Linked DNA regions of Homo sapiens: region 2 is linked to region 1. The links are contacts of gene promoters, found by promoter capture Hi-C in blood cells and fetal thymus (Javierre and others, 2016). All regions are on one chromosome and are shown on one strand. Each heading gives the region's core, a stretch centred on a gene start or on the middle of the fragment in contact. The rest is flanking DNA. Distances are from core to core; before and after follow the strand shown.

The links. Contacts are between HindIII fragments. The CHiCAGO score rates a contact against its expected background, and 5 or more counts as called.
Region 2: a contact is called between a fragment that was not itself captured here and the fragment with the promoter of PDLIM1 in region 1, in 1 of 17 cell types (total B cells). The highest score is 5.4, in total B cells.

The regions. Positions count from the first base shown.
Region 1 is chr10:95,288,393-95,293,171 of GRCh38, forward strand. It overlaps PDLIM1 (PDZ and LIM domain 1), which reads right to left and starts at 2,611. Exons shown (of 7, transcript NM_020992.4): 1 at 2,428-2,611. The coding sequence starts at 2,523. RefSeq lists an enhancer at 1,128-1,447 and silencers at 2,169-2,278, 2,299-2,398, 2,449-2,838, 2,889-2,968, 4,612-4,681. The HindIII fragment of the contact is 5,873 bases long and covers 1-4,779 here.
Region 2 is chr10:95,834,877-95,839,655 of GRCh38, forward strand. All of the region lies in intron 2 of ENTPD1 (ectonucleoside triphosphate diphosphohydrolase 1), which reads left to right. All of the region lies in intron 4 of ENTPD1-AS1 (ENTPD1 antisense RNA 1), which reads right to left. Among named protein-coding and RNA genes, the nearest start is that of CC2D2B, 71 kb to the right of the region's middle. The HindIII fragment of the contact is 166 bases long and covers 1,855-2,020 here.

The DNA.
Region 1 (4,779 bases), core at 1,361-3,860:
CAGCAAATTGCCCAGGATGATAAATAATGTAGCATACCTACCAATCAGAAAGTGTGTACAGCTCTTTGTCAGTGCTCACATTTCCTCACTATCACTATTTACGGAGCACTCTCACATACCTTAACTCACAGCCAAGGGCTGGTGCTATCCCCACTGCAGAGGTTTTTTTTTTTAAGTAGCCTCAGACAGTGGAAGATTCACCCCAGGTACAGCTCAAGCAAGAAGACACTGGACCAGCACCAGATCTCAGATGGCCACACCAGGGTCCCTTTATGACAATGACTTTCCCATTCCCATGAGGTGAACAGGCTCACAATTTTTCCATGTATTAATAAGGAGCTGAAGAGAAACAAATAAATTACTGTCAGCATGAAAATGTTACCTCTTCTGAGTCACTTCCACTTTTCAATTAAAGCACCTGCCAAGGGCATTATAAAGATTAGTTTCCATCACTAGACCATGAACACCTTGAGAATGGAGCTGTGCCCTCTCATTTCTGAGGCGTTTGCACAGTTTCTGGAATATGATACGTGCTCATTAAACACGTGCACACGCCATAAATAAATAATATAAATAATAAATGAGTGAATATATGAAGGTAAAAACCAATGAATTCACAGTGTGGTGTTTTCCACCCCATTCCATCATTCACTCATGCATTAAGACTTTTAAAAGCAGCTAAAGTGAAAGGCAGTAACTGCCCTTTTAACAGATTGCCAATACATCCTCCACTACTTAAAAAAGGGTTTCATGTCATATATAAATCTCAGAAGTGGAGAGGGCTGACAGGTTAATTATAGACACAAAGAACAGGGACAAATGGACTATGAGGTAAGCGAGTTGAAATGTGCAGACACAATGTCCTCCCTGGACAAGCATTTATTAATAAGCCTGCAAGGATTTACCCAGCCCGGCCAGGTACAGGTCTGCTACCAGGCTCGGGGACGATTCTGGGGAAGGCACAGTTCCTGCGCTTGAGGAATTAGGCTGGTGGCTGGAAAGGCAGTGTGTACCTTTGAGAATAATCAGAGGTCTCTGTGGGACGAGGCAAACAGGTGGAAGATAAGGCCCAAAAACTGGCCCGCCTACTCTTTTAGGGGGGTGAGATAGAGAAGACCTCCTCACTGGGCCAGGCCAACCGGGAAAGAAGCATGGGTAGGACTGTGGCTGGCAGACAAGTCAAGAGGAGGCCACCAATTCTTCTCCTGCACCTCCCACCAAACTCCTTCAGCTGCTGGACGCAGGAGCTTGAGTCAAAAGGATCCATAAGGATATTTCCCTTTCTTCTCCACCCTTCCCCCAACCCCAAGTGAAAAAGAAGGATGTTTAGAAAGTCTGGGAGACAAGCTGAAGGGCAGCTTCAGCAGGCAGATGAGCCCAAGAATGGAATGTGCCGCCTACAGGCAAGGAGTGGCCATGGGTGGGGAGAAAGGGGACTTCTTTTTCTCCCTTTCCTCATTCGAGGTACTTACTGAGTCTCTTCTTGGTGCCCAAGCACTGAACGTGACATCTCTTAGTGGGACATCAACCTGTGTTTGGCCAGATTAAATGGCCAAAGCCCAGACCTCTGAACACTGAGTCTGGGTCTCCCTGGGGGTTTCACTTTATTAGGGGGGCAATGGTTCTGGTGGCCCCTGATTCAACGTGAGTCCTTCTAAAGATCCGAAGCCCCTCTTAGATTTCAAGCACCTCAACCCCACCCCAGGTGGACACCCCATCGCAGTATCTACTCATGCCCTGAGAAAAAAGGGCTGGTGCGGGGAGGGGAAAGAGATAATCTGGGAATGCTAGGAAGAATGACGGCGGGGCCACGTTCTGCAGAGGGGAGAATGACCAAGAGGGTTTACTTGAGTTTGTTTGTTGTGTTTATTTCCCGAATCCAGCACATTCTCCAAAAGCCATTCGAGGGGCGAGCCTCGGCCGTGGGTCAAGTCCAAAGAGCGTGTTTCGGTTGTTTTTTTAGGTTAATCCCACTTGCCCCCCACCCCAGTAAACTTCCCACCCACCCCACCTCACTTTCCAGGTCTTTCCTGTTGCGTTCGGCTGCACTGCGATCTGGGAAGAAGGGAGAAGTGCCATCTCCCAGCGCGCGGGATCTGCGGGGACCCTCGTCCCCTCGCTGGTTGACAAAGAACTAACACCCGCCCCGCCGCGCTTCCGGGGCCAAAGAACGAAAACTGCCTTCTTTTTTTCTGGCGGACACGGAGCGCGCCCGCGGCGGGCCGACCAGCCCGGGAGCGCAGCCTCCGCGAAGGGGCGGCGGGGAGCGGCGGGGCCCGGGCGCGCGGAGAGCGCTCAACTAACAGCGCACCTGGACGCGCCCGGCTGCGGTTCCGACTCCGTCCCCGACCGCGCCCGCGGGGCCCCAGTCTCCGCATATCACCTCCCATAGCGCCCCGCTTCCACGCACGTCCCAGCTGCTCTTACCCGGGAAATGGCGAGAGGCTGCTCGAAGTCCTTGCCGCCCACGAGGCGGAAGCCCCACGGCCCCGGGCCCTGGAGGTCTATCTGCTGGGTGGTCATGGCGCGGCTGTGGCGGGCGACGACCCGCGGGGACAGACGGGCAGGACGCGCGGAACAGCTTGCAGGGCACCCCCGGCGGCTGTCGGAGAAAGAGCGGCGCGGCGCGGGCCCGGGGAGCCTGGGGCTGGCGGGGGCAGGGCAACCGCGAGGGCCAGGGCGGGGGCGGCTCCGCCCAGGCCGCGTAGCCGCCCGCCGCCCCGCCCGTCCTCCCGCCCGCAGCCGCTCCCCGCCCTGCGCGCCGGCCTGGGGGCCCTGGCCCGGAGTCCCGCCGAGAGAGCGCGAGTCAGATGCGGGGCCGGGGCTCTCAGCAGCTCTGCCCGGGACCCCACACCGCCTCCCTCCCTCCTGTACGCACGGCCGCACCGCGGCTCTCGGGCCCGGGGCGGGTGCTAGGTGAGAGGGAAGCAGGTCCTGACAGCGAGACAAACTCGCGCCTCGTGCTTTGTAAAACGAGAAATTTGAAGTGCTGTGCCAAGTCAGCCCTCTGAGGTCGGCTCCGACTTCCCATTTGCTTTTTGTAATCGGTAATGATGTTTAAAAGGTGCTTTCGAACGATCTCATTTGATGCTGAGGCAACCGGGACGTTTAGTCCCATTTTACAGATGAAGTAACTGAGTCTGCTCAGTAGGTGAGAAGACTTGCCCGACGCTACACCACTCGTCAGCATCTGGACCACTGCCCGGGCCCAGTGCTGCAGAACCCCATCCTGGAACTTTTATAATGCTAATGAGACCATCACTCAGGTTATAACTGAACTTCAAGGCCTTCCTAGAAATCTTTCCTCCAGGCTGGAGTTCATGGTAGGTTCTGACCTCAACAGTTCAAACCTCAAGTTTGGGGCGGGCCAAGGGCCAAGTCAATGCAAAAGAAGAGCTGAGTCCGGGACCTGGATTCCCAGCCTCCCACCAGCTTCCTAGCCAGGCTCCCCCTGACGCCCTCCCGGTGGAGTGCATTCTCCACGCCGGACCAGACCATTTCTCATGCTGTCCATGGCGTCCCCACCTCACCACCAGTGAAAACCCAGATCCTTACAATGCCTACAAGGCCACCCCTAGAATGGCCCCAACTCCCTCTCTGACCCCAACTCCTCCTGCCCTTTCCTCACCTGCCCCCCAGTCTGCCAGGCTGTGCTCCTTGCTCCTAACTCAGGGCCTTGCCTCAGGGCCCTGTCTGCAATGCTGTTCTCCCAGACATCCCCACCACTCTCTGTCATTTTCTAGGGGCCGGACACGTGGCTCACGCCTGGAATCCCGGCACTTTGGGAGGCTGAGTCAGGAGGATCAGTTGAGCCCAGGAATTCTAGACCAGCCCCAGCAACACGGCAAGACCCTGTCTCTACAAAAAAATTTAAAAAAATAAAAATTAACCAGGTTTGGTGGGGCACACCTGTCCCAGCTTCTAGGGAGACTGAGGTGGGAGGATGGCTTGAGCCGGAGAGGTCAAGGCTGCAGTGAGCTGTGGTCGTGCAACTGTACTCCAGCCTGGGTGACAGAGTGAGACCCTATCTCAAAAACTAAAAAATAAAAAAAATGCAAATGTCATTTTCTGAGGTCATCTCTGAGCATCATTTAAGATATCCTCTCTAGAATGCTCTATTACCTTCCCCTGCCTTATTTTTTTCTTTTGTATGTATCACCATCTGGCATTCTCTATATTTTGTATATTTATTTGTTCCACCCCCACTCTTAAGCATTAATTCCATAAGGACAGGGGTTTTTATCTGTTTAGATCACTGCTGTGCCCCAGTGCCTAGAATAGTGCCTGGCACATAGTACTTAATGTATATAACACATTGGCCATCCTCAGGACCACTTACCCTCTCTGGGCCCAGTTTCTTCGCAGTTTTCTTGGCACCCATTCATCCTGGTACCCAGGCCCCAGCACAGTGCTTGGCATAGAGCCCATGCTCAATGAGTTTGTTCCCTGTGCAGCTCTGTCTCCCTGTGATCCTGGCCTACCTACTGAAGAGCCCTGTGCACAGATTTACACATAAAAAGATTATCTTGCTTGTCCAATTGTGTGACAGCACAAATGCCTATGTTTGGGAATAGTTTGTTTGCTTTTAGAAATCCAAGTGGAGGGCCGGGCACGGTGGCTCACACCTGTAATCCCAACACTTTGGGAGGCCAAGGTGGGCGGATCACCTGAGGTCTGGAGTTCGAGACCAGCCTGACCAACATAGAGAAACCCATCTCTACTGAAAATACCAAAAATTAGCCGGGCGTGGTGGCGCATGCCTGTAATCCCAGCTGCTCG
Region 2 (4,779 bases), core at 688-3,187, 550 kb after region 1:
GTGATCACTGCACTCCAGCCTGGGTGACAGAGCGAGACTCCGTCTCAAAAAAAAAAAAATTTAAAAATTTAATTTATTTTTAGACTCATGGGGCACATGTGCATATTTGTTTCATGGGTATATTGCATGATGCTGAGGTTTGGGCTTCTAATGATCCTGTCACCCAAGTAGTGAACATAGAACCTGACAGGTAGTTTTTCAACCTTTGACCTCCTCCCCACCTCCCCTCTTTTGGAATCCCTAGTGTTTATTGTTCCCGTCTTTGTGTTCATGTGTACCCAACGTTTAGCTTCCACTTATAAGAATATGCAGTATTTGGTTTTCTGTTCCTGTGTTAATTCGCTTAGGGTAGTGGCCTCCAGCTGCATTCATGTTGCTGCAAAGGACATGATTTCATTCTTTTTTATGGCTGCATAGTATTCCATGGTGCATATGTACCACATTTTCTTTATACAATTCATCATTGATGGACACCTGGGTTGATTCTATGTCTTTGCTATTATGAATAGTGCTGTGATAAATATACAAGTGCAGGTGTCTTTTTGGTGGAATAATTTGTTTTCCTTTGGGTATATACCTAGTAATGGGATTGCTGGGTCAAATGGCAATTCTATTTTTAGTTCTTTGAGAAATCTCTAACCTTCTTTTCACAGGGCTGAATAAATTTGCATTCCCACCAACAGTGTGTAAGCATTCTCTTGTATGCACAATCTTGCCAGCATCTGTTATTTTCTGACTTCTTAATAGCCATTCTGACTGGTATAAGATGGTATCTCATTGTGGTTTTAACATTCATCTCTCTGATGACCAGTGATGATGAGCATTTTTTCAAAAGTGTATTGGCCACTTGTATGTCTTCTCTTGAGAAGTGTCTATTTATGTCTTTGACCCACTTTTTGTGTGTTTACTCTGTCACTGGTTTTTTTTGCTGTGCAGAAGCTCTTTAGTTTAATTAGGTCCCAATTGTCACTTTTTGTTTTAACTGCATTTGCTTTTGAGGACTTAGTCATAAATTCTTTCCTGAGGCCAATGTCTGGAAGGGTATTTCCTAGGTTTCTTTTATGACTTTTATAGTTTGAGGGTCTTACAGTTATGTGTTTATTCTACCTTGAGTTAATTTTTGTATATTGTGAGAGGTAGGGGTGTAGTTTCATACTTCTACATATGGTTAGCCAGTTTTCCAACCACCATTTATTAAATAGGAAGTCCTTTTCCCATTGTTTATTTTTGTCAGCTTTGTCAAAGATCAGTTGGCTGTAAGTGTATGGCTTTATTTCAGGGTCTCTATTCTGTTCCATTGATCTATGTATCTATTTCTGTACCAGTACCATGCTGTTTTAGTTATCATAGCTTTGTGGTTTAAAGTTAGGTTATGTGATGCCTCTGGCTTTATCCTTTTTGCTTAGGATTGCCTTGGCTATTTGGGCTCTTTTTTGGTCTGTATGAATTTTAGAGTAGATTTTTTTCTAATTCTTTGATTTCTTTGGGCAATACGACGCATTCAAAAAAGACTTGGAAGGAAATAAATAAAAATAAAAGTGATATCTAATTAGTAGAATCTTAAACATCTTTTTTTACTTCATTTTATAAGTGATATTTAAGAAACTTTTAGTACTCTTAAAATAGAAAATAATATTGAAATGATCCCGAGGGAGTGTCAGATCTCTTCCTTACCACCTAAATCTTACTGCTTTCTTTAAAGGATATACTCATAGGGACTTTTGGAAATATTTAAATATAAGCTACAGAGAAATGTTGGGTTTCTCCACTGCCAGACTTTGAGGCATTCACTAGCTAATGGACTTTTGAGCCCAGGAGGCAGAGAGAACATGAACATTCTCCAGACTTCTGGGAAGCTTTATTTACTGAAGCCCCTGTAGGCCTCGTACTCTCTGGAACATGCATTGGAAAATGCTGGTGTGGTGGAAAGAGAACAAAACGTTGTGGCTACCTGGGCTCTGATGGATGTTGTAACAAAGAAAGGCAAGCTCCCCAAATGCTCAAATTGAACTTTCAGTCAAGCTTTATCTGTCTCTCAAGCAGCAAACAATGCCAGTTTTTTATTCTGCAAGCCATTTTAGAAGACAAAATGTTTGGCACAGTTGCACAGGTTAGCATGCTAGTGTACTGTGTACACAAGATGAAATGTCTTCAATTTGTGTTAAAATATGCTTTACCCCCTTCTCAAACACTTGTCAAATGAAACGTAGTAAAAGTTTTTGTTTCTCAACTACCTCACTGTGTAAGTAAGGCCTTAGAGAAAACAAGCTGACAGAAGCAAGCCTGGTTCTTTGGCTCTATGGGAAGAATGACTTTCGTATCAACAATGTTAGAATAAAATCTGATCCCAGATAAATGCTGCTTGCTGCTTCTACCTCACCAGTTTCTGTCGTATGCTGCTGTGGTTGGAACATTTTCTGGCAGGAAGAAATCAGGGGCTCTGTTAGGAAACAACAGAATTTTCTGCCATGTGTAATTCCTGAGCCTCTTTCTCCACTCTGGGAGGTTTCTCAAGGGTCCAGTGGCCCCAGACCTTAGTCAGTGTTCCTCTCTGCCCACAATGGCCACCACCTAAGCCATTTCTTGGATTCCTTTCACTGCAAGCCTAGCTGCAGAGGAGTCTGTCCAGCTTGCTTCCTTGCTGTGCCCAAAGCCAGCATACAGGCCCTTTTCTTTCTAAAGGCATAATGCTAATTACTGGAGGGAATCCCCACTGTGTGTAACTAGGAAGAGAACACTGTGGAGGTTATGGCAGGTCAAGGGTCCTTGCAAGGTCTGCACGGTGGTACTCCCTGGTCTAGTGAAATGGAGTAGAGTTTGACACTCAATAGGCTCTACTTTTAGCTTTTCCTAGTGGTCCAGGGAGGTCTCTTAAATCCTATTTCTTGTCTTCTTTTCTCCCTGGAGTCTCTTAGATTCATAGCAGATGATATATATACCCATTGCCACCTACATTTTCAGGTCTTCACTGGGGCCCCTACATTGGTGTCTCCATGAACCAAACAAGGTCATTTCTACTGTTCCTCTTTCCAGACCACTGCTTCTGTTCATGCAACCTAGCTTATATATGTAGGGAGATTCACACACACACACACACACACACACACCACACACCCACACACACCCACACACACAGCTAAATTAAGCATTTTTAAAGTGGCAGACCATACTTTGAGGTCTGCAGCTTAAATAAGCAGCCACGTGACAAGCGTCTCCTTCTTCTCTTCCTTTCGCTTCCCCATTTACTTCCCTCTATGTTTCTTCTCTAAGGAAGATTTAAAAGCACATGTGCCATCATGCTCTTCTCCCAAGTTCATATCAGATGTCATTAATCAATCATGGAATTTTTTAATCCTGAGTAAGCCCAGAGATATAACCAAAGATGACTATCAGTTGATCAAAATGGGCATTGAGCAGTTTACTCCTGGATAGATACCCCCAAAGAAATGAGAGCTTATTTCAACAAAATGAAATGCATATGAATGTTTCTGGCAGCTATATTTCCAGTAGCCCCAAACTGGAAATAACCCGAATGTCCATCAACAGTTGAATGGATAAAAATATAGTATATCCATATAATGAAATACTTTGCAGTGATGGAAAAAGATGAACTACTGATACACACAGTTTGAGTTCATCTTACATAGTGTAAAGTGAAAGAAGTTAGACATAAAGGAGGCATACTATGTGAGTTCATACATTGCAGTTCAAAAACAGGCAGAACTCATACATGGTGGTAGAAGTTAAGACAGTGGTAACTGACTGAGAGGGGCACTGGGAAGCCTTATGAGGGCTAGAATGTGTTCTGTATCTTGATCTGGGTGGTGGTTATATGGATGTGCACATATGCAAAAATTTATTGAGGTGTATGCCTAGTATTTGCACACTTTACTGTAGCTACCCCTCATTTAATGTCCTTAAAAGGGGGCACCAATTTGAAAATTATTGCCCAGCCCTTGCTTCTATGTTTCTGTGTATAGTTTCTGTTTCTAGTTCTTTCTCCTGCTGTCATCTGTCCTTCTTCTCCTCTGCTGACTTTCTTTCCTCCTTTTTTTCTTCTTTTCATCTCCCCCTACTCGTAAAGCTAAAAACATGAAGTTTAAGTACATATATTGTAAAATATATTAAATACAATTTTACAGTTATATTCATAATTTAAAAGTGAGTGTATTTAGTGTTTTTACACCTCTCCTTAAAACAAACTCTGCATTTATTGAACTAAAATTAGATGAACATATTTATTACGTCTTACTGGCATTCAATGGAGTAACTCAGTGGTTCCCAAACTTATCTGCACATTAGAATCATGTGGGACCTTATAAAAATTCCAAAGCCCAGGACACAATACCACATCAATTAGATCACAATACCTGGGTCTAGGACACAAGCATCAGTAGCCATTGAAGCTTTCCAGGTGATTCCCGTATGATTCCAATGTGTAGACAAGTTTGGGGACTATAGATTAATGGCTTTCTATTCCTTCCATAGTGTCTCAGCTACTTCAGCATGTGGTTCTGAATCTTGGCTGCACATTAGAATCACCTAAGAAGCTTCTAAACAATACTGCTTCTTGGGCCCTGTTCTGCATAAGGTCTGAATATTTCTAACATGCAAACAGCATGAAGAGCCCCGTTCTAGCAGGGTTGTTGTCCTGGTAGATCTTGTGATCGGAGTGACTCCAGTGCCATCCCCTCAATGTTCCTCTCAAATACTTTCTCCTCATGTTTTTGAAAATTCCAGTCCTTTCTTTTGCAAGCCTAATATGGAGATGAGTGATGT